Regions from separate parts of the Homo sapiens genome. Here regions 2, 3, 4 and 5 are each linked to region 1. Evidence: promoter capture Hi-C in 16 types of primary human blood cells and fetal thymus (Javierre and others, 2016). All regions are on one chromosome and are shown on one strand. The core of a region is centred on a gene start or on the middle of the fragment in contact, and the rest is flanking DNA. Distances in the headings are between cores, read along the strand shown.

Region 1 (6,040 bases), core at 1,939-4,438:
AAGATGCAATTAGTTGGGAGCTCTCTGGGTTTCCACAGAGTCAAGGATGGAGCAAGACCTTCTCAGGAAGATAGTCTGTGAATATTAAGGGCCAACTAACCCCTGCCCCCAGCTAACCCTTGCCCCCTGAAGGACAGGGCCAAGTTTTGCCACTTTAATTTGGGCAAATAATTATTCTTTTCCCTCATTATTCTCACTTGCAGAGAAGGTTGAGCTGAACGATATTCATAGGTTCATTAGGAATCTGTTTCCAATGCTCAGAAACAGTCTTCATACTTGCTAACACTGATAGCTTATTTCTGATTACAAAAATAATACTTCCTTATTATAGAAATTTTAGAAAAGAGCAAAATATAAAAAAGAAAAAATGCAATCCCATATGATCCTATACCCAGAGGAAATAATTGTTAACCCTTTGGAAACTTTACAAGCATTTTTGCTTGTTTTGTTTTTGTTGGGGTTTTTTGCATTCACACCACTTTTTAAACAAAATTGGGATCATACAGTCTTCACAACTTTGTATTCTGTCGTTATACTGTGAGCATTTTCCACAGTCATCAACTATTCTTCACAAATATAATTGTAATCACTGCATAGTACTCTACCAAGAATATATACCATGATTACTGAGCATTTAGGTTATCCACCTAGTATAAATAACACTGCCATGAACATCCTAGCCTAGTGCCATAAGTATATATTCCTGCATCTCCACTTCCTTAGTATCAATTCCTCAAGGTAGAATTACAAGGTCAACAAACTGATTTTTTTTTTTTTTTTAGCAAGACAGAGTCTCGCTCTGTCGCTCAGGCTGGAGTGCAGTGGAACGATCTCAGCTCACTGCAACTTCCATCTGCCAGATTCAAGGGATTCTCCTGCCTATCTGCCTCCCAAGTAGCTGGGATCATAGGCACGCACCACTATGCCCGGCTAATTTTTGTATTTTTAGTAGAGACAGTGTTTCGCCATGTTGGCCAGGCTGGTCTGGAACTCCTGACCTCAAGTGATCCACCTGCCTCAGCCTCCCAAAGTGCTCGGATTACAGGCGTGAGCCACCGCACCCTGCCAACAAATTGATATTTTTAAAGTATCTTGACATGTATTGCCATATTAATTTCCAGAAAGACACAACAAATCCACTGATTTTCCTGAGCCAAGTGAAAGCTGAAGTTCTGAAAGAGCTGGAGTATTAGAATGCAGGACAGTGGTCCTATCTCTCCTCCTCTTCCCTGGTCTTAAAAGTTAACTGTTCAGCAAAAGAAGGGACAGAATTCCAAGTCAAAAGATAGGGGTCTACAGCCTAGCACCTAGCGCCGAGGTCTGGCTGGCTTTGGGAACCTGAAGCAAGCCTTGGTTCTCCTCATCTGTAAAATGGGTATAGTGTGATTAGCTCTGCTCTGCTGACTACCCCAAGCAGTGTCCATGCTCACTGAAAATGTGTTTGAGAAAGTTCGATGCCTTGTGTTAAAGGGCACTATTGTTATCCTTCTCATAACCTGAGGAGCTTAGGAAGTGGGGTATTCTTTCTGAAAGCCCAAGGGCTTCCCTTCCTGGCTTTTAGCCATCATGCCCAGGACAAGTGCCACTGGTTCTGAGGTGACAGAAAAGCACCTTCCGGAAGGAATTTAGTAGGGTCTGAGGGCCCGGGAGGACCCAGCAGTGTCTTCCAAAGGTCAGAGACAGCATTGGAAGATCCAAGACAGGAATGGCAGGCTCCGAATGGGGAGACTGGGCCTAGGGCCACCCTGAGGGTGCTGAGTGGATCTGGGGAGGTGAAGAGCAAAGACATTCCTAGTAAATGTCCCTCTGTTTCAAGGCTCCCAGACCCTCTTTTCTAGGGCTCTGACTGGATATCTGGTCTTTGGGAAAACCAGAAATCAAACTAATTCAATGGATGCAAAAACCCAACGGCTGCAAAGGACCCCAGGAACCAGCAGCTCTGACCCTTTCTTCCAGGCTGCTGTAATCCTGTCCTGAATTTTTAAAACCCTCCCATTGGAAATGCAACTAGTGCTCCCAGCCTGGTCTCTCCAGCCCTAGGGCCGATGGAAAGGAGACCCATCGAGGTGCCTCCCTGGAGACACGGACGACCCAAGCTTCCCTCCTCACTCCCCACTCCCCTATCGACCTGGCAAACATCCTTTCCCATCTCTTCAGGCTCGCCTAAGACCATGGCCTGAGGGGACTCCAGTGACGTTCCCAGTGCCAGCAGACAGAACTGCGCAGACCCCGCGGGACGCCATCCTCCATCACCATCATCGCCGGCTGCCCTCCACCCCCAGCCCACTCCACGGCCAGAGGTGCATCTCCGGCCTCCAGACACGCACAACAGGTGGCGTCTGCCCGCCCTCCCCAACCACACCTCCCTGGCCCTCCACCTGCGCCCCAGTCCTCCAGCAGCGCTCGGCCGGGGAGCCTACCTTTGAGGTTCTGGGGGTGGCCCCGCGGCGCGCGGCTCGGGTTTCCTCGGGGCAGCGAGGGGATACTGGAGAAGTTGTTACCCATGGCATCCGGCCCCAGGAGGTTCGGCGCTCGCGGGTGGGGGCGAGGCCGGGCAGGCGCTGAGGTGCGGTGTGCGAGTGTGCGCGCGCGGGTGCGCGCCACCGGGGGAGGGCCCTGCTGGGGCTGCAGCCGGGGGCGGGCGGGCAGCTCCTCAGCTTCCTTTCTCTGGACTTCGCGGTCCTTGGCGGGTTCCGCCCGCCACGGGTGTCCTGGCGCAGGCTGGGCTACCTGCCTCCCATGCCCCGTGGCGGGAGCGGGGGCCACAAGCAGGGCCCTGGGCCGGGGCCGGGGACGCCCGGGGCTCCCCGCTTGCTCCCCGGGACGCTAGGGTTCCGGCTGGGGGTGGGCGGCGCGGCGGCTCCGGCGCGCTCCCCCGGGGCCATAGAGTCAGGGTCGCTGGCGTGGGCGTTCGGCGGCTCCGAGGCAGGCTCGGTTACCGCCCCGCGGAGACGGCCGCGGCGGCGATGTGCGTGGCTCCCTCCCGCCCGCGGGTCTGCGTGGAGCGGGGCTCGGCGGAGCGCGGGGCGTTCTGGGCGCTCCGACGCAGCTGGTGTCCCCCGACCGCCGCGGTCCCGCCCGCGCCGGGTCCCTCCTGCGACCGCCGCCCCCGCCCCCCGCCCCGGCAGTCTCCAGGATTCCCTCGCTCCGGTTGTTATGGTGACAGCTGCGCCGGTGAATGAGCGTCTTAGTGACACGCGCGCGCCCGCTAGGCCAGATGTGGCCCCGGGGCGCGCCGCGTTCCCGTAGCCGCAAGCTCTCGGCGGCGCGGGTCGGGGTAAGACATCAGGCGAGTATGGTGGCACCCGGGGCTGGCCTTATTCCCAGCACGGAAACATGGAACTTGCACTTGAAAACAAGGGGAGCAGGGCCGCGAGAACGCCGAGCTCCCCGGATGCGGGGGCGGGCGAGCCAGCACTAATGTTCGGTTTCCCTAGCTCCAGGTACCGGGCCTGGCGCAGAGTGGAGAGCCCAGGGAAACATGTAAATGAGCGAGCGGATGCTTGGATAAAGTAATTGAGATTAGAACCCCGGCACTTGACCCTCCGTTCTCAGCCAGGCTAGGGGCACTAGGGCAAGGGTTCAGAGCAGGAACCCCGGGCAGTCTCACTGATGCACAGATGCCACTGAGGGCCTTTGAATGCCCGCGGACCAGACTCACAAGCCTGGAGCTCTGGCCAAGCTGAGGGAACAGATCTCCGGGACAGATCATCAGAAGACCACCAGCTCTGAACTGAGTGGTTCTGTTAGCTATAACAAGGTGGGGGAGAGGAGCCTCTGCAGCCTATGGCAGTCAAAGAAGGCTTCCTGGAGGAAGGGGGTTTCAGCAAGGGCCCTGCTCATGTGGCTAGTGCCTTCCTGTAGCTCAACACTGCACCAAGAAGCCTTCAGGAAGGGAAACAGAAGTCATTCTTCTCCTTCCTGGACCCGGGGCATCTCTCCTGGTCTATCAGGGATGGAAGATGTTCCAAGGTTCCCCCCAGGGAATCAGACTTCCTGCTCCTCTAAGTCATCTCTAGCTCCCTGCTCTGGCTTCAGCAACTCAGATCCAGAGTCCAGTGAAGACATGGGTGGGCAGGGGGACATCTCATGTATCCTTTTCTGTAATAAAGGTTCTTCCCCCAAGTCTCCATTTGGCAGCTCCTCATTATCTAGGCACAATTCGTGTCCTGACATTCCCTGACTGCCCCAACTAAAGGACCCCCTCCACTGTCAGTCACTTTCCACAATATTCCATTTTATTTTCATCATAGCTTTTATATGGAACTTGTTTACAAGTAGCCTTTCCTCGTTTATCTTCTGCCTCCCTGCTAGAACATAAGCTCTGTGAGGGGAGAGCACAGGTCAGTCGTGTTCACCAGGGTGTCCTTACCCACTGGGGGAATGCCTGGCATGTGACAGATTCTCAGAAAATAATTGTGGAATGCATGCTTCCCACTGTGGGCCAGGAGGCTCCACTGAGATCCCTGGGGGCAGAGCCTCCTGAACCACCCTTTATTTTCCTCTCCTACTCTCCTCTCTCCATCCCCATTCCAGGCATTCTACCCTTAAATGTCTGGGACTCCAGGCAAGCTAGAAATATCTGTGACAGCCACTGTCTCTCTGGAATCTGGAGGGAAAGGCAGCCCCGAACCCGGCCTCCAGCCTCCCAGATGCCCAGGATCACGTGTGCAGGCAGCTGCAGATGGCCACAGCAGGTCAGGGATGGCTGTCTTATTTATGGGCAGTATCTTCCCAAGGCTCACTCCCAGCTAATGACTCATGCATCAGAAATCCACAGGCTCTTAATGGCAACACACTCACACATGTGCTAACACACCGCTACACTATCTCACACACTCACACCTATACAAGCACACACACTTATATTCCCCCTGAAATCTGCCGGAATGAAGTCACTGTGAGTGGCCACTAGAATCAGGCCTTTCACAAGTTAGAACAAATATGAGGACTCTGCATAGTTGAGACTCATCCTGCTAGAGTGTGTTTGAAGTACAAGGGCCTAGCTAGGATTTACAGACGGTGGCTCCAGGGAAGCCTGGTGTGGGCAGGGGAATGGGGGAGGGGATGAGGCCCCAAAGGTAGAGCACAGCAGGGATGTCTTGAACTGCTGACCTCAGGTGATCCACCTGCCTCGGACTCCCAAAGTACTGGGATTACAGGCATGAGCCACCGCGCCTGACAAAGGGATGTCACAGGCCCCACATGGCCTAGACCTGGGGCTATGGGCAAAGCAGGGGAGAGAGGAAGACGTCAAAGGGAAGGAGGGAAGTGAAGGCCAGAGGCGGATGCTCACCTGAGTCCAGAGGCAGCCCAGGTTCTGCAGTTCAGGGCAGCGTGATCCCAGGGAGTCCCAAAGGAAGGTGAGAGGCGTCAGGGACAAAGGCAGGGAACTGAGGGTTGAGGAGCTGATGGGAGTATCAATAGGGCTGGGATAGGATGAGGTAGCCAAGGCATCCCTGGCGCAAAATTGAAGAAGGCGCCAACTCTCAAGTTCATGCAGATACCAAGCTTGCACTTGCGCGAGCCTGGGAATTAGGTCCTCTTATATTTCACGCCCTAGGCCCCTCTCTACCTTCACCCTAGTACTTCAGGGAGCTCTGTACTGGAAGAGGGGACACCACTGTTAGAGTCAACTAGGTCTCTGGCCAGGAAGGGACCTAGAGGAGGTTGGTGTGGCTGCATAGGACTCAGAGAAGTTGAGCGTGGCCCTTCTGAGGAGTCCTGTGCCCCAGCAACTCCTCCCTGGCAGGGACTTAGGGTAGACCCAGCTCAGAGGGTTAAAGAAGGCCAGCAGTCTCCTTACCCCCAGACCTTGGGCAGAACTCAGAGGCCTTCCTGCCATCCTTCCCCAAGGCAGCTCATAGGGGTGGGGTGCCTGGGTGGTGGCTCTGATCCAGAAGACCCTTCCCAGACCCATCCTGGAAGGGAAGAGGAAGAAGGAAACTGCCAGGGAGACTGGGGCTGATGAAGTCACTGTTTTGATGGCTTCAGGGGAAGCTATTAATACCCACAAGGTGATGCTCCAGCACCAGTCACC
Region 2 (6,040 bases), core at 2,586-5,085, 130 kb after region 1:
CAAGCCATGCACTGCAGTAACATTCCCAGCTCTCTGGGCCACCCAAGCACTGTGTAACATTCTTGTAACATATCCTATCCTGTGTTCCCTTCACATTATATACATCTCTTACCCCTTACAAAATGTAAGTACTTAAGGGTGGGAAGGACCATGCCTTATTTATATCTTCAAAAGATAGTTATATGCTTAAGACAATTTCCATAACCACCACTTCAAAACAGAAAACGTAAGTATTTATTGGTAATACAGCACCACCTAACAATACATCTGTCAATTAAATCAGTCAATTAATCTGTCAATTAAATCAGAATTTGGTTGTTGGAAATTTCTGTAAGTTGCCATTATAGTACACTTTGCTCTTTACTGCAGAAATGTGATAATTTCTTTGGTTACTCTGATGGCCTCTTTTCCTCCTTACTGATTTCTCAGTTATGATCTATAATTAGGTCAAGTTTCTGAAGAGATCTGAGATTACAGCAAAATAACCAACAATATAATTCATCTTATAGTTCATTCACAAAATTCAACATTCAAAAAAGATTCCTCTCTCTTTTTTTTTTTTTTTGTAAAGACGGAGTTTTGCTCTGTCACCCGTGCCAGAGCACAATGGCTTGATCTCAGCTCACTGCAACTTCTGCCGCCTGGGTTAAAGTGGTTCACCTGCCTCAGCCTCCTGAGTAGCTGGGGCAACAGGCACATGCCACCACGCCCAGCTAATTTTTTTGTATTTTTAGTAGAGATGGGGTTTCACCATGTTGGCCAAGCTGGTCTTGATCTCCTGACCTCAAGTGACCCACCCGCCTTGGCCTCCCAAAGTGCTGGGACTACAGGCGTGAGCCACCGAGCCCGGCCTTCAATCACATCTGCACACATTTCTATTTACGGATTACAATGAGGTATGAATACAATGCTATGTATGAATACTTCATTTCTGGCAATGCTGCAAAAATTAGGCCTCATACAGACTAATTTGGCTAAAAGCTCTGCACTGGGTAATTCAATAAACATTTATTGTTAGCTCAGGATCACCTTTGATACCTTATACGGTATATGAGTTTTACTGCATGGATTTGTGACAACAGTTGCTGGGAGAAAGGAGGGGCTCAGGTTTCAGGTACATACACAGAGGCATAAACTTATCCATACCAAACATTTTACATATAGATATTATAAGTGCCTCAAGTGGCCGGGCACGGTGGCTCACGCCTGTAATCCCAGCACTTTGGGAGACCAAGGCGGGTGGATCACAAGGTCAGGAGATCGAGACCATCCTGGCTACCACGGTGAAACCCCGTCTCTAATAAAAATACAAAAAAAATTAGCCAGGCATGGTGGCACGTGCCTGTGGTCCCACCTACTCGGGAGGCTGAGGCAGGAGAATCGCTTGAACCTGGGAGGCGGAGGTTGCAGTGAGCCAAGATCACACCACTGCACTCCAGCCTGGCCGACAGAGCGAGACTCAGTCAAAAAAAAAAAAAAAAAAAAGCCTCATAACCACTCATTTAATAGAGAGAGAAAATTCAACATGAGAATGACCTGCCTCCTGACAATATTAATGTAAAAAAAAAATTTTTTTTTTGAGACAGAGTCTCGTTCTATCACCCAGGTTGGAGTGCAGTGGCGCAATCTTGGCTCACTGCAACCTCAGCCTCCCGGGGTCAAGTGATTCTCCTGCCTCAGCCCCCCAAGTAGCTGGGATTACAGGCATGCGCCACCACGCCCGGCTAATTTTTGTATTTCTAGTAGAAAGGGGGTTTCGCCATGTCGGCCAGCCTGGTCTCAAACTCCTGACCTCAGGTGATCCACCCGCCTCAGCCTCCCAAAGTGCTGAGATTCACAGGCATGAGCCACGACGCCCGGCCAATACGAAGGTAAAAAAAATTAAAAACTAAAAAAATAATGACAATCAGCATCACACAAGTAAATGCAGCAAAGACAAAAAGGTCTGTCCAATGCCCATGCCTAAACACATGGCTCTCAAGCTGCCATATGTCAATACTCCTTAGAAGCACTTATTCAAAAGTGAAGATTCCCAGATTCCACCTCTAGAGGACCTGATTCACTAAGTCTGAAGTGATGCCCAGGAACCTGCATCCTCCAAAGACTTAACACTGGTGGTACTCAGCCCATATATATTTTTAAAATTTCAGCCGGGTGCGGTGGCTCATGCCTGTAATCCCAGCACTTTGGGACGCAGAGGTGGGTGCATCACGAGGTCAGGAATTCAAGACCAGCCTGACCAATATGGCGAAACCCCATCTCTACTAAAAATATATTTTTAAAAATTAGCCGGGCGTGGTGGCGCGTGCCAGTAGTCCCACCTATTCGGGAGGCTGAGGCAGGAGAATCGCTTAAATCTGGGAGGCAGAGGTTGCAGTGAGCTAAGATCACGCCACTGTACTCCAGCCTGGGCGACAGAGCAAGACTCCGTCTCAAAAAAAGAAAAAAAGAAAAAGAAAAAAAATTCAACTTTTAGCTGAGATTCAGGGGGTACATGATGTGCAGGACTGTTACAAGGGTATATTGTATGGCGGCCGGGCGCGGTGTCTCACGCCTGTAATCCCAGCACTGTAGGAGGCCGAGGCAGGTGGATCATCTGAGGTCAGGATTTCGAGACCAGCCTGACCAACATGGTGAAAGCCCGCCTCTACTAAAAATACAAAAATTAGCCGGCCGTGGCAGTAGGAGCCTGTAGTCCCACCTACGCGGGAGGCTGAGGCAGGAGAATTGCTTGAACCCGGGAGGCGGAGGTTGCAGTGAGCCAAGATTGCGCCACTGCACTCCAACCTGGGCAACAGAGCAAGTTTCCGTCTCAAAAAAAAAAAAAATCTATAAAGTATTTATCAACACATCTTTTAAGAGGAACTAAAGAAATAAAGAGAAAATAAAGTACTTACAGTACTTAAAGTACGCTAGTACGAAACTGTACAAACACTGTTAGTGTCATGCGGACCTGCCCAAGGCTCAAAAGCCCAAATGAAAGGAAAGGGACCAAGAGCGTGAAGATCCCGCCTCTCCGCGCTCACCTTCCCCATACATCCCTCTGCTCAACAGCTCTCCTCAGCTTCTCACTGGAACTGACAGCTCGGAAGGGGGTTTGACTGCGCAGCCCGCGCACTAGAGAAAGGGGCGGGCATGTGGCCCTAGAGGCGGGCCCAGGAAATTCAAAACAAGCCCGCAGAGGTGCAGGCCTGCCAGCCCCTGCCTTACCGGCTTGCTCCCCTTCGCGGCGGCCGTACCTACCCGGGACCCCACGGCTCACCTTTACCCGGAGCCGCAGGACCTGAGGCTGAACCTGAGACGACCGTGGCCCCCGAAGCGCCAGTGCCCGGAGGGTCGGGGGCCGCAGGGCCAGGGGCCGAGGCGGTCACCCGGCTGAGAAGCGCGCTGGTCACCTCAGCGCCGGCGCTGTCCACCTCTCCCGGGGCTCCGGAGCCCGCCACTGCCTCCTCCAGCAGCCCGGCCTCACGGCGCAGCGCCTCTTCGGCCTCGCGGAGTTTGCTCTGCCGTAGGAACTGCAGCACGGCCAGTAGAGTCTGTCGGTCATGCGGAGCGCCGGCGTCCGGAGCAGCGGCGGGCACCGGGGCCGCCCCCGCCGGGGCAGCGGCGGAGACAGCCACCGTGGGCTTGGGGGTCCCGCCATCCCCGCCAGTGGACGACGACGCCGCAACGTTCCCGCCGCCGCCGTTGGGGCCGTTGTTGGTAGTGCCGCCGCTACCCTCGCCTGCGCCGTCCCCCGCCTGCGGAGGTAGCAGCGTTGGCGGTCCCTCAGGCTCTAGCTTGACCGCCACCTCCGTCTGCTCCTCCGCCAGCGCCGCCATCTTGCGGCTGAGCCACCTCGCGCCGTCAAGCGTGATTGCATTTTCGCCACATGGAGGGCGGGGAGGAGCATTTCACGACAACTCTAGTAGGCCATTTACGGCAGTAGGAGGAGCGAAAAGGAAGGAGAAACGGAATAGGAAAGAGAGCAACTTTCAAAACCGAGCGAAAGAAAGGCAGGAAGTGGGCATTGGTGACCACCTATTACATTTGCCTGAGAATAATTGCCATTTATTGCAGGCCAGCTATATTTAGGCATTATGATAGATGTTTTACATTATGTGATCTCCTTCAATTCAATAATCTTTTTCTTTTTTCTTTTTTTTTTTTTTGAGACGGAGTTTCGCTCTTGTCGCCCAGGCTGTTAAGCGATTCTCCTGCCTCAGCCTCCCCAGTAGCTAGGATTACAGGCATGCGCCACCACGCCCTGCTACAATTAAATAATCTTATGAGGTAATATTATCCCCACCTCGCAGATGGCTCAGTTGAAACCAAGAGAGGTTAAATAACTTACCAGAGGCAAGAAGAAAGTCCAAATGTCAACATTCGAATCCACGTATTTAACTCAAAAACATATACCATTTGCCAGAGGGAGGCTTCCGAGATACTGGTAGTTTTACATTTTGACCTGAATAGTGCTTACTTTTTTTTTTTTTTTGTCATTTTTACTTTTGTAAAAGTTAATCGAGCTGCATGCATTACATTACATTTATTTATTTATTTAACTTTTGAGACGGAGTGTCGCTCTGTCGCCCAGGCTGGAGTGCAGTGGCCCGATCTCAGCTCACTGCAATCTCTGCCTCCTGGGTTCAAGCGATTCTCCTGCCTGAGCCTCCCGAGTAGCTGGGATTACAGACGTGTGCCACCACGCCCGGCTAATTTTTGTATTTTCAGTAGAGACAGGGTTTCGCCATGTTGGCGAGGCTGGTCTCCAACTCCTGACCTCAGGTGATCCACCGGCCTCAGCCTCCCAAAGTGCTGGGATTACAGGCGTGAACCACTGCGCCTGGCCCGTATACATTACATTTCAATAAAAAGTTTTTAACGCCAGGTGCGGTGGCTCACGCCTGTAACCCCAGCACTTTGGGAGGCCGAGGCGGGCGGATCATGAGATCAGGAATTAGAGACCAGCCTGACCAACACGGCAAAACCCCGCCTCTACTAAAAATACAAAAAATTAGCCAGGCATGGTGGTGCGCCCCTGTAATCCCAGCTACTCGGGAGGCTGAGACAGAAGAAGAGCTTGAACCCGGGAGACGGAGGTTGCAGTGAGCCGAGATCCCGCCACTGCACTCCAGCCTGCGCGACAGTACGAGACTCCGTCTCAAAAAAAAAGTTTTTAAATACCAGAATGTTGTGGTTGTGAAATATGTACGTTATGTATTCATGCTATTATCCGTTATTACAAATAAACCATTTTAATTGTATATTTAAAAATCATGGCCACACGCAGTGGCACATACCTGTAGTCCCAGCACTTTGGGAGGCCGAGGCGGGTGGATCACCCGAGGTCAGGAGTTCGAGACCAGCCTAGCTAACATGATGAAACGCCATCTCTACTAAAAATATAAAAATTTAGCCAGGTGTGGTGGCGGGCACCTGTAATCCCAGCTACTCGGGAGGCTGAAACAGAGGAATCACCTGAACCCAGGAGGCGGAGGTTGCAGTGAGCCGAGATCGCACCATTGCACTTCAGCCTGGGCAGCAAGAACAAAACTCCGTCTCAGGAAAAAAAAAAAAAAAAAAAAAAATCATATATGCCATTTTGCAATGTGCTTCATAGGTTATAAAACCCTCCTGCATATTTTATCTCATTGGAAACTTGTAACTCTGTGGAATAGGTACAGACGAGAAAAGTGAGCCTGAGACATTGGGAAAATCTAGCACAGCCGTTCAAGTTATTGGTTTTGAGGTCTTACCAGCGTCCTTTGACCCTGCTTACTTTTAAAAAATATTTTATTTTATTAATTAGAGATCTGAAGCCTTACTATATTGCCTAGGCTGGCCTTGAACTCCTGGGCTCAAGCAGTCTCTCACCTCAGCCTCCCAAGTAGCTGAGACTACAGGCACAGACCACCTGGCTTGACCTTGCTTACTGGCTGAATAACCTGGAGCAAGTTACTTAATTTACTATGTCCCAGTTGCCTAATTTTTTTTTTTTTTTTTTGAAACGGAGTTTCACTCTTGTTGCCCAGGCTGGAGTGCAATGGCGCCATGTCGG
Region 3 (6,040 bases), core at 1,411-3,910, 110 kb after region 1:
AATTTTAAAGTTTTGTAGTAAGAATGGTATCTTTAAAATTTATGTGTCACTTGTTTAAAAAATATTTTTATTTTGAAAGCAACCTTGGATGCTGGAATAGTAAGAGTGTAAAATACCTTGTGTCCAGTGAAGATCCTTACACAGTTACCATTCAGGACGTCCCAGAGCCGCACAGTTCTGTCTGCAGAGCCCGTAGCAACATAATTAGAATTTGGATGGAATCTGGTACAATTCACATCAGCAAGATGGCCGGCAAATATTCTTAAAGGCTGATAGTGGTCTGTAGCCCAGAGCCTTTTATAAAGTTATTGAAAGCAAAAGATGACAATTAGTAGATAGCTGTGAAACGCCAAAAATCTATACAAAATAAATACAGAAACATCCACATAAAAAGTTAGTTCTGAGTGGGCCCCCCACTTACTAGTTAACTGAGGGGAAGAAAAATGAGACTCACAGTCCTAAGAGTTCATCTGGTACAATTTTTTTTTTTTTTTAAGCTGAGGTCTTGCCAGGCATGGGGGCTCACGCTTACACTTCTAGCACTTTGGGAGGCCGAGGCATGCAGATCACGAGGTCAGGAGTTCGAGACCAGCCTGACCAACATGGTGAAACACCGTCTTTACTAAAAATACAAAAAATTAGCTGGGCATGGTGGCGCACGCCTGTAATCCCAGCTACTCAGGAAGCTGAGGCAGGAGAATTGCTTGAACCCAGGAGGTAGAGGTTGCAGTGAGCCGAGATGGCGACACTGCACTCCAGCCTGGGTAACAGAGCGAGACTCTGTCTCAAAAAAAAAAAAAAAAATGCTGAGGTCTTGCTCTGTTGCCCAAGCTGGATTCAAACTCGGTTCCAGCAATCCTCCCACCTCAGCCTCCCCAGTAGCTGGGACTATAGGCGTGTACCACTGTAGCCAGCCAAAACTTAAGTTCTAGAACTCCAATTCTCTGTATATTCTTCCTCCTCTATTCCTAGTCTAAACCACAGAAAAGTATTTTCCCCTAGTTCTGGCCACCAAATAGTTGTTTTGTTTTGAGACAGTCTCACTCTGTCATCCAGGCTAGAATGCCGTGGTGCAATCTCGGCTCACTGCAACCTCTGCCTCCTGGGTTCAAGCAATTCTGCCTCAGCCTCCTGAGTAGCTGGGACTACAGGCACGTGCCACCACACCCGGCTAATTTTTGTTTTTTTTTTCAGTAGAGACGGGGTTTCGTCATGTTGGCCAGGCTGGTCTGGAACTTCTGGCCTCAAGTTATCTGCCCTCCTTGGCCTCCCAAAGTGCTGGGATTACAGGCGTGAGCCACTGCACCTGGCCAAATAGTTTCTAACCTGAACTACCTTATCCTCAACTTCTAAGCAGATGACAGAGAAACATAAAGGTGCTCACAGTGGTATGGAAGACAAGGTTAAGTATCTGATGGGGTTGGGAGGGAGGATTGTTAATTAACTATTTTTTAAAAACCAGGATTCATATAGATGTAATTGCAGATATAATAATACTCCTGCCCCAATTTCTTTTCTTTTTTTTTTTTTTTTTTTTTTTTTTGAGATGAAGTCTCGCTCTTGTCCCCTAGGCTGGAGTGCAATGGTGCGATCTCGGCTCACTGCAACCTCCGCCTCTCAGGTTCAAATGATTCTCCTGCCTCAGCCTCCTGAATAGCTGGGATTACAGGTGCCTACCACCACGCCCGGCTAATTTTTGTATTTTTAGTAGAGACGGGGTTCCACCATGTTGGCCAGGCTGGTCTCAAACTCTTGACCTCAGGTGATCCATCCACCTCGGCCTCCCAAAGTGCTGGGATTACAGGCATAAGCCACTGCGCCCGGCCCCAATTTCAAATAAGTTATAAATGCAAAAGCTTCTCAGAAAGTTGAACCTCAATAATGGAAGTGTAAATGAATTTGGCTGGCTGTGTAATTCCCAACAAGAAACCATTCTGTTCATTGAATAGACCCAGTCATAAGATCACAGTGTTCTTACCGAGCTACTCGGTCATGGCCCCCTGACACAAAATAATATCCATATGGAGAAAATTGTGTGTCCCATACTGGATAGTTGTGTCCTTTATATCCCACCAAACAAGTAAATGTTTGAAGGCTCCACAATCTAACAGTTCCGTCCTCTGAAGAGGAAAGCAGATAGTTCCTGAGAGAAGAGAAGGTGATATATTTGACTCCCAGAGTAACCTTTGGTCACCTGCCCAGTTTTATATACATTTGAATACATTTAATATTTTATATATATTTGACTATATTAAATATACCTAACATGCTGCATCTCACTTTTAATTCATACACGCAATTCACAGTAGGTATCAATTGAAAGAACTAACCAAACTAATGTTAACCCTGACACTCTACATATACCGAGCACCTACTGAATGAGGTAATATGATACAAAAACTTAGGGAAAATCAGAGTTCTTTACAAGAAAAAAATAGCAGGGGTAATTAACAAAGTATAGTCAAATAAGGTCAATTGAGAAAGTTTAAGAAATGTGATATGTCACTTAAAACTCAACAATTTTTGACCCTAAAATAAAGATGCTATTTTCCCATGCTGTGTAAGCTATGTAAGAATTAAAAAGGAAATGTCTTTTGAAGAAAAAGAAAAAAAAACTACAGACATGCTAATAATTCTCTACCTTTTTCAAGCATAAACACAAAAGATTGATAGTCAGAAGGTTATTACAATTTTCACTGAAATCAGACGTTTCCCTCAAAAATGTATCATCTGGCAAAACCTTATCAAGCAACAAAAAACCTAATTCTCAAAGTTTCGTAATGATGAAACCTTGATGGATGGAAAGCTATTATCTTTTTTTCTTTTCTTCTTTTTTTGAGATGGAGTTTTGCTCTTATCACCCAGGCTGGAGTGCAGTGGTGCAATCTCGGCTCATTGCAACCTCTGCCTCCCATGTTCAAGTGACTTTCCTGCCTCGGCCTCCCAAGTAGCCAGGATTACAGGTGGGCGCCACCACACCCTGCTAATTTTTGTACTTTTTAGTGGAGACAGGATTTCCCATGTTGGCCAGGCTGGTCTCAAACTCCTGATCTCAGGTGATGCGCCTGTCTTGGACTCCCAAAGTGCTGGGATTATAGGCGTGAGCCACTGTGCCCGGCCTGAAAGCTATTATCTATCCAAGTAATATACTGATGGTATTATGAATACAAAACACCCTCCACCCATTTTTACAGTGTTAGAGATCATGAAAAATAGGCAAATACCTATACACATAGGATGACATTGTAATCATACACCTAAAGGGAAGCAAACCAATTTTGAATTTCCTTTTTCATTTACTCTTAGTACTTTTGATTATAGAAAGATTAATCCTCAATTACTAGCTAATATGCCATTAATGTCAGGAATTTGTCTTAAATTTGATGAAGCAGCCAGAAGACACAATGCAGGGACCCAATGAAGCAATTCAACCCCTAATGGAGTTCTATAAAACTAAAGCTTTGGTTGGTTATTTACCATTGGGTAACAAATAAAAATAATTAAAAAAAAAAAAGGGAAATACTAAAGCTAATTTTTAAAACCAGTAAGCCCTGAAACTGTGCATTTTGATTCTATAAATTTGAGTATACAGGCCAGGCACAGTGGCTCACGCCTGTAATCCCAGCACTTTGGGAGGCTGAGGTGGGCAGATCACCTGAGGTTGAGAGTTCAAGACCAGCCTGACCAACATGGAGAAACCCCATCTCTAATAAAAAAATAAAATTAGCCAGGTGTGGTGGCGCATGCCTGTAATCCCAGCTACTCAGGAGGCTGAGCCAGGAGAATCGCTTGAACCCAGGAGGCGGAGGTTGCGGTAAGCCAAGATCACGCCATTGCACTCCAACCTGGGCAACAAGAGCGAAACTCTGTCTCAAAAAAAAAAAAAAAAAAGTGAGTATACATTAAATTGCTACCATGTACAAACACCAGGATTCAAAGATGAATTAGCAAATGGCAAGATTCTAAAAGATGATGAACGTCAGACAACCATGAGATTTTTATCAGAATTTTCCCAGCATTTGCATAATGTTTCCAGTAGTTAACTTTTATATAATTTCAATATAACATAGCAGTATTTAATTTTTATTGTTTGTATTTTACCTATCCGGACTGAAGCTGGCTCCGTAGACAGGCCCACTGTGACCATACAAAATCTTCAACTCACTTGCTGTTTTCTCATCCATGATTCTTTCTAAGACATCATCTGATTCTTTGTCTATAAGACTAAGATCTAAAATGGTCCAGAAATATTGATATTTTATAAGTACATTCATCAAAACTTTTAAAGTAATCATATCACAGTGCAGGAGAGGAATTAACATTTGAAAATTTCCTCCTATATACCAACCGCACTTTGCTAATCCCTCTAAATTAGGCAGTATCATCTCAGCGTGTAAGAGAAGAAAATGACGTTCAGAACAGATAATTTGCTAGAGTGCACACAGCTACTCAGTGTGGGAACCAGAACTGAAACTCAGTTTTGCCCACTATGCCACAGTGTTTCACAAAATGAAAACTATGGGCCAGGCATGGTGGCTCACACCTGTAGTCTCAGAATTTTGGTAGGCCAAGGCGGGCAGATTGCTTGAGCCCAGAGGAGTTCGAGACCAGCCTGGACAACATGGAGAAACCCTGTCTCTACAAAAAATAAAAAATTAGCCAGTGTGGTTGCACACACCTGTAGTCTCAGCTACTCAGGAGGCTGAAGTGGGAGGATCACTTCAGCCCAGGGATTAGAGGCTGCAGTGAGCCGTGATCACACCACTGCATTCTAGCCTGGGCAACAGAGTGAGACCCCATCTAAAAAAAATTTAAAATTAAAAAAAAAAAACCTATGGAAATATTGAAATAATTTAAAATATATTGTTTTATTTAAATAATATAGTTAGTAAAAAACTTTATTTCAGGCCGGGTGTGGAGGCAGGAAAATCGCTTGAACCAGGGAGGTGGAGGTTGCAGTGAGCCACCTATAATTCCAGCACTTTGGGAGGCCAGACAGGCGGATCACTTGAGGTCAGGAGTTCGAGACCAGCCTGGCCAACATGGCGAAACCCTATCTCTACTAAAAATACAAAAATTACCTGGGCATGGTGGTGGGCACCTGTAATCCCAGCTACTGGGGAGCTGGGGAGCTGACACAAGAAAATCCCTTGAACCTGGGAGGTAGAGGCTGTAGTGAGCCAAGACTGCGCCATTGCACTCTAGCCTGGGTGACAGGGCGAGACTCTGTCTCAAAAAAACAAAAAGTAAAAAACTTTCAAATAAAATCCTGACCTTATTTGTTCTTTTTAGCCATTTTTATGACTAAAACAGGAAGTACCATCCCTTATTTAAAGATTTTTTAAGATTTACAAGCAATCATAAAATGTTAGATTTTTAACTTTAAGTTTTTTAGCTTAATACTCACTCATTCTACAGATGAGAAAACTGAGACCTAAAGAAATTAAACCAGTCTAGCACCCCAGTCACTCCAAAGCTTTTTTCACTGTTGGGAATGTTAGAATCTTGAGTTAAAGTAAAATCAAGTGAATTTCTGTAAAGAACACAATCTCCTGTGTATTTTCCATGGAATCAAGATTGGTATAGACTAATGGCAAGTTCACATTCCAAAAGGTCATCTCAGTTACCTGATGCTTGTTTGACACTACGAAGCTTTTTGGGTGTTACCGACCACACTCTGACAGTTGAATCTGCAAAACCTCCAGCAATCAGACTAGAATCATCAGTGACATCCACTGCAGTGAGACCCTGCCAATAAAAGGGTTAGACTAAACAATACTATTTTAGGATATTTAGAGATAGGAAGCAAATGTTAATCATTTTCACACTATACTAAATATCTCCTCAATCCTCTATTTTAAGGAATATATAAAGACTTTTAAAATTCTTGATTTAAAATATTGGCCAAGCGCACTGGCTCATGCCTGTAATCCCAACAATTTGGGAGGCTGAGACAGGTGGATCACCTGAGGTTAGGAGTTCAAGACCAGCCTGGCCAACATGGTGAAACCCCATCTCTACTAAAAATACCAAAATTAGC
Region 4 (6,040 bases), core at 2,504-5,003, 91 kb after region 1:
CCTCTGAGTGACCAACAGACAGACTAACAACTCCTCCGTTGCCTTTCACCTTTTCAACAATGCAGTTCAGGTACTGACCCACCTTTAGTTTAGCACCTGTAAGCCCAGACCCAGGCCCCAAAAGGAAAAATGTATCTATGAGAAGGACTTTTAACGTGGGCCCAAGTAATACCTGAAAAGACCCATGGCCTACCTGCCCAGTTAGCATCAGTTACTCCCCAAATTCCCAATCTTTAAGGGGCCAACTACAAGAAGGAAACGAAGTTATCCTAATTGATCTGGAATTCAATTACCACACAAAAATACACAAGCCAGGAGACTGCTGGTTCAGAAGCCATGGGGGCCCTAATTGCAGTGGAATCTTCCAGGTTAGAAAAACTGACACTGTTCCATCAGATCTTAGTGAGACCTTACCACTCGCTGGCCCTTCATACATCTTTCCTTTCCTATTAACTAGGATTAAGTGCTGGTTTTACCAAAGCCACAGCACCTTCAGGGTCACCATTCTGTCATGTTACTCATCAAAATGGCACTTAAATATAATCCCCACATGTACCACCTCACCACCATGTACTGGCCCCTTTTCTTGCCCTCACCTTTGTTCTTCTGTCTGATGTACTCCTGGGCTTTCAGCAGTGGCAGAAAAGCTCTGGTCCCATCAACACCAATGTCCACTAGGTAGCCATGGTCTTCCAGGCTGGATACGGTACCTGTAAGTAGCTGGGGAAGAGAAAGTAGTCCCAGAAGTTCCAATTCAAAGGTAATGGGACACACACAAAACATCCAAACTTGAATGTTCCTGCCACTAAGCTCACACTCTGCCACTATCCCACTCCCACATTAAACCTTAAGCCACAATCCCACTAGACAGCAGACATCAAATTCAACACTCCCAGGCTTGAAGGAGCTGATGGTTGCCAGGCAATGAGGAATGTTTAACACAGCTGAATGATGGAACAATATAGAAGAGTCTCTTGCCTCAAGTGGTTTCAAAAGATAGCAAACTTTCGGCAGGGCACAGTGGCTCATGCCTGTAATCCCAGCATTTTGGAAGGCTGAGGCAGGCAGATCACTTGAGGTCAAGAGTTTGAGACCAGCCTGGCCAACATGGTGAAATCCCGTCTCTATTAAAAATACAAAAATTAGCTGGGCATGGCACCTGTAATCCCTGCCTCAGGAGGTTGAGGCAGAAGAATTGCTTAAACCCAGGAGGTGGAGGCTGTGGTGAGCCGAGATCATGCCACTGCTTTCTAGCCTGGGCAACAACAGCGAAACTCCGACTCAAAAAAAAAAAAGAAATTTGGACTTGCTTTCTCTTTTCTCTTCTCCAATGTAATGATTAGGTTCAAGTCTTCAATGTCCATTAAGTGCCCAAAGAACCCAAGAGACCTTCCTTCCAGAAAAAGAACCACTCCTATGTGTCACAATTGAGCTGAAAGTAAAAGGTGGCCTAGACCACGCTCCCTCAGAGGCAGAGAGAAGGCACATTGCCACTCTTCCTCCCCGACCCTAGACACCTACCATGCCAGGCTTCAGGGCCTCAGCACTCAGCACTCTGTTGACATTTTTGGGGTTCAGAGACAGCTTGACACTCTTCTTGCCCCTGTCTGTGATGCCCAGACTGCTCACCACACATCTTACCAGCATTCCAGGTGAGAAAAGTTCAGGCAAGTGAAGTAGGTCCTGCATAACACAAATGAGAAAGACCTGATATACACCCTTCTCCTGAACCAAAAATCCATTACCCAGCTTTGGCTCAGTGACTTCTCATCCTCAGACCCCAGAGAACCCAAAAGGTGGGTGAGGAATAACCCCCCATCCACAAAGGAAGTTGGGTCTGTGGCCTAGCCACAGTCTTGAATTTCAGCATAAGGCCTTCAAATATTTCCACATAACTGGCATGTAAAATGACTTGTCAAAAGAGTTGTCTACACTTTCTGCCTCTACTTCATCCCTTACTCATTCTTCGGCTCACTGCAATCTGCTTTCCACCCCTCTCACTCCACCACTCTATCTCCCATAGAATCACCAATGAGTTCCATATTGTTAAATCCAGTGGTCAGTTTTGCAGTCTATCTCTTACATGACCATTAAAAAGCACTTGAGGGTCGGGTGTGGTGGCTCATGCCTGTAATCCCAGCACTTAGGGAGGCCAAGGCGGGCAGATCACCTGACGTCAGGAGTTTGAGACCAGCCTGGCCAACATGGTAAAACCCTGTCTCTACTAAAAATACAAAAATTAGCTGGGTGTGGTGACATCTGCCTGTAATCCCAGCTACTCAGGAGGCTGAGGCAGGAGAATTGCTTGAATCTGGGAGCTGGAGGTTGCAGTGAGCTGAGATCATGTCACTGCACTCCAGCCTGGGCTAAAGAGTGAGACTCCATCTCAAAAACAAACAAACAAACAAAAATCATAGGTCAGGCATGATGGCTCACACCTATAATCCCAACACTCTGGGAGGCCGAGGCGGGTGGATCATTTGAGGTCAGGAGTTAGAGACCAGCCTGGCCAACATGGTGAAGCCCTGTCTCTACCGAAAATACAAAAATTAGCTGGGTGTGGTGGCTGGCACCTGTAATCCCAGCTACTGGGGAGGCTGAGGCAGGAGAATCACTTGAACCCAGGAGATGGAGGTTTCAGTGAGCTGAGATCATGCCACTGCACTCCAGCCTGGGCAACAGAGTGAGACTCTGTCTCAAAAACTGAAAAATCATGATCATCTCTCCCAATCCAGGTCCCCTTCAGGGTTTCCTATCTCAGGATGTCATGACCAAGCATCAAATCATGCAAAACAGAAACCTAGAACTCAGCCCTGACACCTCTATCTGCCCCACCACCCATATTGAATCTATCACCAAGCAATGACTTTGCCTCCTCAGTCCTCAGGAAATCCTGAACCCAGGTCACCATCAATCTCAGGACGTGAACGACTACAAGAGCCTCCTAACTTGTCTCTAAGCAACTTCTCATGCCTCTTCAATCTACACGTTATGCTGTACCCCAGTGAGAACATTTCAAGGACTTCCCATTGATTCTAGAATTTAAAAACAACCCTTAAAATGGTCTACAAGGCTGCATGTGCCCTGGCCCCCATTCAGGCTCTCCTGCCCATCTCACATCACACTCTCTCTTGCTCTCCTTACCTAGCCATACTAGCCTTCTCTCTGTTATATATTACATTGCTTCTGCCTGAACGCCTTTCCTTCTTTATCTAGGGAACCCTCATTCTTTAGATCTCAGCTTAAGCATCCCTTCCTCAACAGTCTTCCAGGCTCCCAGACTTAGTCAAAAATTCCTTTATGATAAACTCTCACGGGACCTTGTACTTTCCCTTCTTAGCACCTGGCAAAGTTGTAATTTTAAATCTATTTGTGTTCCACTTATTTTCAATAACAGGCTTCATTCGGATTTCCCTTACCTTCAGAGGTTGTTCTTGTGTCACCTGCTCATTCAGCTTTTTGGTGTAGGCATCACAGATTTCAGTGACTTGCACAAAGCCCTGGAGGCCATTGGGGAGACTAATCACCAGTTCCAGTTCATTCACCTCTTTCACGCAACCCAAAATACGCATTCCCTCACACAGGGACTAGAAGAGAAAAAGTGAAATGTGTACAATAAGGATGGGAACAACAATAGGGAAGGTTGGAAGGTCTGGCTTCTAGTGTCAATTTAAAAGCTATAAGGCCAAGCACAGTGGCTTACGCCCTATAATTCCAATACTTTGGGTGGCCAAGGCAGGAGGACTGCCTGGGCTCAGGAGTTTCAGACCAGCCTGGGCAACGTAGTTTCTCCAAAAAAAAAGATTAGCCAGGCATAGTGGTACACGCCTGTAGTCGCAGGTACTCGGAGGTGAGTGGATCGCTTGAGCCAGGAGGTTGAGTCTGCAGTGAGCTGTGATCACACCACTGCACTCCAGCCTTGGCAACAAAGTGACACCCTATCTCAAAAAATAAAGATAAAAAATAGGCCGGGTACAGTGGCTCATGCCTGTAGTCCCAGCACTTTGGGAGGCTGAGGCGGGTGGATCACCTGAGGTCAGGAGTTCGAGAGCAGCCTGGCCAACACGGCAAAACCCCGTCTCTACTAAAAATACAAAAATTAGCCGGGCATGGTGGCAGGTGCCTGTAATTCCAGCTACTCAGGAGGCTGAGGCAGGAGAATCACCTGAACCTGGGAGGTGGAGGTTGCAATGAACTGAGATCATGCCACTGCACTCCAGCCTGGGCAACAAGAGTGAAACTCTGTCTCGAAAATAAAAAAATAAAAATAAATAAAAAATAAAAACCTACAGGAATTTTATAAATGAAAAGAAATACACATGTGTACATATCAGTGAACTTCTCAAATATCTGACCGAGCACTGTAAAAGGTCTAGATTATACAACAGTGTTAACAGCACTGGGATACTGGAGGACACCTTTGCCTTTTACATTATTCTGAGCAACCCAAACTCAAATGCCTGGCAGACAACACAATGAAGGAAGCCAGCTAGTGGAGACAATGGCAGTCTGGAGTGACCATGCCAGGTCTAAAGGACACAACCACTACTCAGCTCCTTGTCATTACAAACATGAGGGAATACGGGCCTTCTGCTATCAGTACTTTCAAATTTTTACAAGAAGCCAGAAATCATATTTTCATGTAAAAAAATTTTTAGTTTTCAGCCAGGTGCAGTGGCTCACGCCTGTAATCCCAGCACTTTGGGAGGCGGAGGCGGGCAGATTACAAGGTCAGGATATTGAGACCATCCTGGCTAACATGGTAAAGCCCCGTCTCTACCAAAAATACAAAAACTTAGCTGGGCGTGGTGGCGGGCGCCTGTAGTCCCAGCTACTCAGGAGGCTGAGGCAGGAGAATGGCGAGAACCCGGGAGGCGGAGCTTGCAGTGAGCAGAGCAGAGATGGCACCACGGCACTCCAGCCTGGGCGACTGTGCGAGACTCCGTCTCAAAAAAAAAAAAAATTTTAGTTTTCTAATGTTGGCACCAAGTCTAACAATTTTTTTAAAGTATCATATAGGACAAAATATTGACTCTGAATCTAGCCAAATATGAATGTTCCTCTTCAAAGTTATTTAACTTCTTTTCTTTTTTATAACTAACACATATTGGTGTTATCATCTAAAAATGTAAGGCAGGCTGGCCGCGGTGGCTCACGCCTGTGATTCCAGCACTTTGGGAGGCCAAGGCAGGCAGATCACGAGGTCAGGAGTTCCAGACCAGCCTGACCAACATGGTGAAACCCCGTCTCTATTAAAAATACAAAAATTAGCCAGGCGTGGTGAGACACCTGTAATCCCAGCTACTCAGGAGGCTGAGGCAGGAGAATCGCTTGAACCCGGGAGGCAGAGGTTGCAGTGAGCTGAGATCACATCACTGCACTCCAGACTGCGCAACAGAGAGAGATTCCGTCTCAAAATAAATAAATAAATAAAATAAAATAATTTCAAAATTAAAAAATAAAAAATAAAAATGTAAGGAACACAGACCACTTCAATTCTTGGAAATGGGTTTCACATCTATGAAATGAATGGGTAAGATGAGAATGACTGCTAAAGTTACTGTCCATTCTAACCTCTGAATATATCAGAACTCAAGTCCTGTGAGGACACAAACAAGCCCACGACAGCTTTAAAGGAAAAAAAGGGGGCAGGCACGGTGGGTAGCTCATGTCTATAATCCCAACACTTCGGGAGGTTGAGGCAGGAGGATTGCTTGAGCACAGGAGTTCGAGACCAACCTGGGCAAAATAGCAAGATCCAAGCCCTACAAAAGATTTAAAAATTAGCTGGGCATGGTGACACACACCTTTAGTAGTCCCAATTTCTCAGGAGAAGCTGAGGCAGGAAGATTGCTTGAGCCCAGGAGTTCAAGACTAAAGTGAGCTATGATCATGCCTGCATTCCAGCCTGAGCAACAGAGTCAGGCCTGTCTCTGGAAAATAATAAATAAATACAAAGAAAAAGAAAAGATTCCTGGCATCGGTTAGCAATGGAAGGAAATCATGCTTACTCCTTAGCATAAATTCCAAGCATCTCTAC
Region 5 (6,040 bases), core at 2,313-4,812, 74 kb after region 1:
CAATTGTAACAATTAAAGGATTCATACCTAAGCCTTTGCATTCACACAAGATAGGCATGCCAAAAATCTCTACCGAATCAACTCACCTACCGTAAGTATTTAGAAATTCTATATCCAGGAGAGGGAGCAATGGACAAAGGGTCCTCCCACCAACCACAATGGGTAAGACAGAAGCACTCACCTGCGCGATGGTATCTGCTGGCTTTCAGGACCAGGTCGGGCACTGGACCCCCACTGAATACCACAGAGCCATCTTCCAACACCTCCTGCACCACTAGGTCAAGGAACATTCCTGGGGTCATCTCGGCCAGCGTCTGGATCAACACAGAGTCTGCCAGAGATCCAAAGGAAACACGGATTAGTACCATGAAAGAACTCTCACTGTTCTTTTCCTCTGGCAGTGTGCTATCACCACGGAGGACAGTGGAGCACTGGAACCACTGACAAGGTAAAATCACTTTTTGCAAAAATGTTCAGTATCCATGAAAACTCTTGTCACAAGCAGACAGACCTAAGCCCCTTGCTAATAATCCTACCTGACCATAATTCATGGGAGTAGCCAACAAATACCAGGAAGACAGGCTTTCCTTTGGTTTCTGAATTTTCACTGTCCCCTCTCAAGCCTCCTGCTATGAAATTCCATTAAAGTTACAACAACCCCACACAATGGTTCAAAGTCTAAGAGGGTCAGAATAATAACCCCTCACAAAGCCTGGCAGGTCCCAGTTCCATTTCATCTGCTGAATAAAGGAATGAAAGGTGAAAAGGCGAGTGAATTCACAGCAAATGCAAATATAAAGCCACAGAACTAAGGGAAATTTTGACTCTGGACTGGCAGTGGGGAGAAGAGGACATCTAGGATGCTCGTAATGACCTTTATCTTAAAGGGGTGTAATATAAACATTTATTGAGCTGCACACATAATAACTGTGCACTTTGGCCGGGCGCAGTGGCTCACGCCTGTAATCCCAGCACTTTGGGAGGCCAGGGCGGGTGGATCACTTGAGGTCAGGAGTTCGAGACCAGCCTGGCCAACATGGCGAAACCCTGTCTTCTCTAAAAATACAAAAATTAGCCAGACATGGTGGCAGATGCCTGTAATCCTAGCTACTCCGGAGGCTGAGGAAGGAGAATCGCTTGAACCTGGGGGGTGGAAGTTGCAGTGGCCAAGATCGCACCACCACACTCCATCCCAGGCGACAGAGTGCAACTTGGTCTCAATAATAATAATAATAATAATAATAATAATAATAATAATAATAAAATTGTGCACTTTATGCAGGTCATACTTCCATTAAAAAAAAAGTTAACCCAATTTTTTTTTTCTTTTTTTTTTTTTTTTTTTGAGACGGAGTCTCACTCTGTCACCCAGGCCGGACTGCGGGCTGCAGTGACGCAATCTCGGCTCACTGCAAGCTCCGCTTCCCGGGTTCACGCCATTCTCCTGCCTCAGCCTCCCGAGTAGCTGGGACTACAGGCGCCCGCCACCGCGCCCGGCTAATTTTTTTTTGTATTTTTAGTAGAGACGGGGTTTCACCTTGTTAGCCAGGATGGTCTCGATCTCCTGACCTCATGATCCACCCGCCTCGGCCTCCCAAAGTGCTGGGATTACAGGCGTGAGCCACCGCGCCCGGCCCCAAATTTTTTTTTCTTATGTTCTGGGAAGCCCAACAACTCACCTAACAACAGGTGTAATTTACAACACATACTCCCACCCCTGGCCCACCTCCCCTGCCCCACAGGTGCCCCACCTCGGTTGCTCATAAGGCTGCGCACGCCCTGCAGCTCCTCCAGGCACTGATTCAGGAGGAGGAGGCTGGTGATAGCCAAGTCCCCCAGACCACAGTCCGACAGCCGCAGTGACAGCAGCATCCGCTGCTTCTCCTCATCCACATTGGTCACCTTTGCCGCTACTGTCTGGCCCTCAACAAAGTGGTCACTTGTGGAGGTCACAAATTTGTCACTCATGATCTGAACAGAAGAACAGGCAGGAGATGAGAAGAGGAAAGGTCTTCATTAAGACAACCCACTTGATGTTCCTGGAAAGGGGTACGTGAGTAGGGGGAAATGGGGCCTAGGAAGCTCCCCCAAGCCCTCTCTGAACACAGCTCTACTTCCCTTCCATAAAAACAGAGCCTCCGGATTGGCTGGGAGCAGTGGCTCACGCCTGTAATCCCAGCACTTCGGGAGGCCGAGGCGGGCAGATCATGGGGTCAGGAGTTCCAGACCAGCCTGACCAACATGGTGAAACCCTGACTCTACTAAAAATACAAAAATTAGCCAGGAGTGGTGGCATGCACCTGCAATTCCAGCTACTCGGGAGGCTGGGGCAGGAGAATCACTTGAATCCGGGAGGCAGAGGTTGCTGTAAGCCGAGATTGCGCCACTGCACTCCAGCCTGGGCGACAGAGTGAGACTCCATCTCAAAAAAAAAAAACAAAAACAAAAACAAACAACAACAACAAAAAAAACAGAGCCTCCAGGAGAGGGCACCCAGTCAAGAAGGCACATTCACAGCAAGCCAGGCAGACACCAGGGCTGTCCTCACCCCTAACAACCCACGGGAACCCTCTGCCCCTCACTGGGCTTGTTTCTGGGGCCCTCCCCTCTGCTCCCATTTTTAAAATGTTTCTGGCAGGGGATGCAAATGAGATTTTCCCAGGCAAAACACCAGGGAGACAGGCCTACAGAGGGGAAGAAATACTGATGAATGATCTGCAGCAGCAATCAGCTGCACGCCATTTGCTCGCTGTCTTCCATGACTTTGGTGAGTCCCATCCCCTCAATAGGCCTCGGCTGACGTGCCAGGCACACCAGGAGGCTCTGCTAGGGGACTGCTGGGATTGTTCCCATCTGAAAGTGCAGGACTCAATGACATGGGGGTGGGGGAGGTAATAATTTCAAAGACATTCTGGTCCCTTAACACCTCAAAAACCTCAGAAGTCTGCAAAACCTGTACTCAGTAGCTCAGGATGATCAATTTCCCTGTCTAAGTGTGCTGAGAGAATAAAAACAAGTGCAGTCATCTTCACACTGGAGACTAAGGCCTTCAATGTGTAGTGTGGAGTGGGAAAGGTGTCCCTTCCTCCAGATGGTCACACAGCTGGGCGAGAGGAACATGGGCCAAAAGCTCAGCTGCACTCACCCCTCCCAGGTGCCTTTATGTCACACACACCTTAAGAGGTACCCCTGAAAATCTTTCAAAAGAGTAAAGTATCCTTGGCCAGGTGCGGTGGCTCACACCTGTAATCGCAGCACTTTGGGAGGCCGAGGCAGGTGGATCACTTAAGGTCAGGAGTTCAAGACCAGCCTGGCCAACATGGTAAAACTCTGTCTCTACTACTCAAAAAAAAAAAAAAAAAAAAGCCTGGCATGTTGGTGGGCACCTGTAATCCCAGCTACTTGGAAGGCAGAAGCAGGAAAATCGCTTGAGCCCAGGAGGCGGAGGTTACAGCGAGCAGAGATCACACCACTGCAAGCCAGCCTGGGCGACAGAACAAGACTGTCTCAAAAAAAAAAGGAATAAAGTATCCTACTCCTCCCTACCCGCCCTCAGGTTCTGTGACCTTGTATCTCTCCTCAAAGCCCTTGTACATGGAGTTGAACTTACAGCTTTTGGGGCCAGTCCGCTAAGACCTGAGGGGAACTGGATGAACACGCCATAGTCCTTGATGCTCTTCACAAAACCAATGAGCAGCATTCCAGGATGGATTTCTGAGAAGTTCTTGGGATCCTGGCCACCTTCTACTGTGGAGACCAAGGCTGGCTTCCTGCAAAGAAGCTAGTGGTACTTCATCAAGGAATGTTCCAGAAAGGGCAGATGAAATGTCCATCTCTCCCATCTCCTTTCTCCACAGAGAAGGACAGAACTGCAGGCTGATCTCTGCTGCTACAGCGATTCTCTAAGTGTGCAGACCAGCAGCATCAACATCGCCTGAAACTTAGGAGAAATGCAAGTTCTCAAGCACCACCTAGACCTACTGAATTAGAAACTTTGGTGTGGCCCAGCCATCTGCATGGCCCAACTGCACACTACAGCTGAGAATCACGGTTTTATTCCATTCCCGATTCACTAATCTGCAGATTACTAGAGGACACCAAAAAGGGATGGCTCATCCCCCTGGTCTGGCAGCTGGATCAGCCATCACACAATCCTCTACTACTCCCTCTTTACACTGATGAACTCATTTTCCCTCCTCTGCCCATTTTTACTCCCAGGAGAATGAACTTTACATTCTGTGAGAAGCTCCTTCAAAGCACCCATGCAAAGACCAAAGGGAATATTCCTGAGCCTATAGCCCCGCGGGGAGAAGGCATAGGGGAAAAAAAAAAAGAGGAAAGGGGGACAGAAGCCACCTTATTATTGGTTCTAACCCAAGGGGCAGGCACTGAAAGCCCCAAGAAAACTAGATGTGCTCCCAAGCACCCCACTGGGCCTCCTTCTCCAGCCTCCGAGAGTCCCCCTCTCTGCAACCTTTCAGGCTACTCCGCCCTGACCACCAGCATCTGCTGGCAGCACTTACTCAGGCCTGCTCTTACTTTCCATAGCACAGGCTTCATCACTGGTTTGGTTTTGTGGAGATATTTCTGAGGTCAAATAGCTGTCTAATTTCCCCAGAATTTCCCATCCAAGCACCCATGGCCCCCCACCTTCCTCTGCTCCACAGATACCAGTCAAGGATACAACACGCCCCTCGCTCTGGCTCAGACACAGGACTCGGTGAAGGATGTCACCTGCCTGGAGCCAATGATGTAACAATGGGCCGTTGGCAACGTGGTCCGACAGATGAGATGTGGGGAGGAAAGCACGGATGTTGTGGGGCAGGACAGCCACCTCCAGCCCATCTTTGGTCTTCTCTAAAACCTTCACATCTACCAACTACCCAGGGAAGAGAAAGACAAAAATAGCACTTGTCATGAACAGAGAACAACCTGGTCTGGATTAGGCAGGGCTTGGAGGCATTAAACTCCGGCACCAAGGATCTCTAAGAGGCAGCTTTCTTCCAAACCCCACCCACCACCCCAACCACCCAGCATGCATGTACGTGCACATTCACCAGGACTCATGGGTGGACCCATCGCACTCCTCTCTCAAGTCCCTCCACGGAGCCCCAGGAAAGCCAGAACTGCAGGCTGGCCCTAGGGACCCGAGAGGAAAGAGGTCAGCAGCCCACTGCTGAAAAGCCTCACTGTAACAGGACTTTCAGGGACAGCTTCCATTTGTTCTGACACACAGGAAGGAATGCGTATGAACCCCTCTAGCCCCAAAATCTTATCTAGCTACCTCTATCTTTCCGCTTCGTGGGTTCCAATATGCCATGTGTTAGTGGTTCCCTGCTCTCTGCCACTGTAACATAAAATAGCTTGTCCAGAGAAGTCCACGTACCTGCCCAATGTTAATGGCTTTTCCTTTCTTCTGACTGTGTCCTGCAGGCTCTTTCTTTGGCTCTGGATCACTCGACAGCTTGAAGGATAAGAGCATCCTCTCTTTGGATGGCTCACAGTTCAATACGACAACCTTCACCACCTGGCAAGAAACCACACAGGCTTGGCCAACTCCTCCCAGCAAGCCTTGCAGGCCCTGCAACGTGCCCTCCACTACTGCTGCAGAGGACTTGGGAGATCTACCGAGCCTTTGGATCAGATCAGGAGGCAGTGAAAAGAAGAAATGCACTGAGAGCTACACAATCCCCCAGGGCAGCCTTTGGGATAAATGGAAGACATAAGTAACTTTTTTTGTACAATCCAAGTCTTAAAAATTATTTTTCTTTTTGAGGTGATGGAGATGCTAATTACCCTGGTTTGATCGTTACACATTGTAAGCATGTATTGAAATATCACATGGTGGCCAGGCTTAGTGGCTCAGGCCTGTAATTCCAGCACTTTGAAAGGCCAAGGCAGGCTGATCACTTGAAGCCAGGGAGTTCGAGACCAGCCTGGCCAACATGGCAAAATCCCATCTCTACTAAAAATACAAAAATTAGCCGGGTATGCCGGCACATGCCTGTAGTCCCAGCTACTTGGGTGGCTGAAGCACGAG

What was found. Contacts are between HindIII fragments. The CHiCAGO score rates a contact against its expected background, and 5 or more counts as called.
Region 2: the fragment with the promoter of TAF5 here is called in contact with the fragment with the promoter of NEURL1 in region 1 in 2 of 17 cell types (M0 macrophages and M1 macrophages); the score reaches 5.4 in M0 macrophages.
Region 3: a contact is called between a fragment that was not itself captured here and the fragment with the promoter of NEURL1 in region 1, in 1 of 17 cell types (M1 macrophages). The highest score is 5.5, in M1 macrophages.
Region 4: a fragment that was not itself captured here is called in contact with the fragment with the promoter of NEURL1 in region 1 in 3 of 17 cell types (M0 macrophages, M2 macrophages and M1 macrophages); the score reaches 5.8 in M0 macrophages.
Region 5: a contact is called between a fragment that was not itself captured here and the fragment with the promoter of NEURL1 in region 1, in 15 of 17 cell types (M1 macrophages, M0 macrophages, megakaryocytes and 12 more). The highest score is 12.9, in M1 macrophages.

What each region holds. Positions count from the first base shown.
Region 1 is chr10:103,490,853-103,496,892 of GRCh38, reverse strand. NEURL1 (neuralized E3 ubiquitin protein ligase 1) reads right to left here and starts at 3,188. Exons shown (of 6, transcript NM_004210.5): 1 at 2,421-3,188. The coding sequence starts at 2,505. NEURL1-AS1 (NEURL1 antisense RNA 1) reads left to right here. Exons shown (of 4, transcript NR_120675.1): 3 at 2,158-2,332. RefSeq lists silencers at 2,510-2,609, 2,690-2,819, 2,830-2,979 and an enhancer at 2,294-2,843. The HindIII fragment of the contact is 3,415 bases long and covers 2,099-5,513 here.
Region 2 is chr10:103,365,771-103,371,810 of GRCh38, reverse strand. It overlaps TAF5 (TATA-box binding protein associated factor 5), which reads right to left and starts at 3,835. Exons shown (of 11, transcript NM_006951.5): 1 at 3,263-3,835. The coding sequence starts at 3,821. RefSeq lists enhancers at 2,533-2,602, 3,733-3,972, 3,725-4,019 and a silencer at 3,063-3,602. The HindIII fragment of the contact is 22,064 bases long and covers 1-6,040 here.
Region 3 is chr10:103,381,429-103,387,468 of GRCh38, reverse strand. It overlaps TAF5 (TATA-box binding protein associated factor 5), which reads right to left. Exons shown (of 11, transcript NM_006951.5): 6 at 5,628-5,748; 7 at 4,102-4,231; 8 at 1,979-2,143; 9 at 117-294. Among named protein-coding and RNA genes, the nearest start is that of MIR1307, 10 kb to the left of the region's middle. The HindIII fragment of the contact is 1,603 bases long and covers 1,859-3,461 here.
Region 4 is chr10:103,400,665-103,406,704 of GRCh38, reverse strand. PDCD11 (programmed cell death 11) reads right to left here. Exons shown (of 36, transcript NM_014976.2): 4 at 3,420-3,587; 5 at 1,522-1,683; 6 at 597-720; 7 at 1-96. Among named protein-coding and RNA genes, the nearest start is that of PDCD11, 7.1 kb to the right of the region's middle. The HindIII fragment of the contact is 8,494 bases long and covers 1-6,040 here.
Region 5 is chr10:103,417,279-103,423,318 of GRCh38, reverse strand. It overlaps PDCD11 (programmed cell death 11), which reads right to left. Exons shown (of 36, transcript NM_014976.2): 14 at 5,387-5,527; 15 at 4,685-4,879; 16 at 3,611-3,781; 17 at 1,752-1,971; 18 at 182-331. Among named protein-coding and RNA genes, the nearest start is that of PDCD11, 24 kb to the right of the region's middle. The HindIII fragment of the contact is 7,810 bases long and covers 1-6,040 here.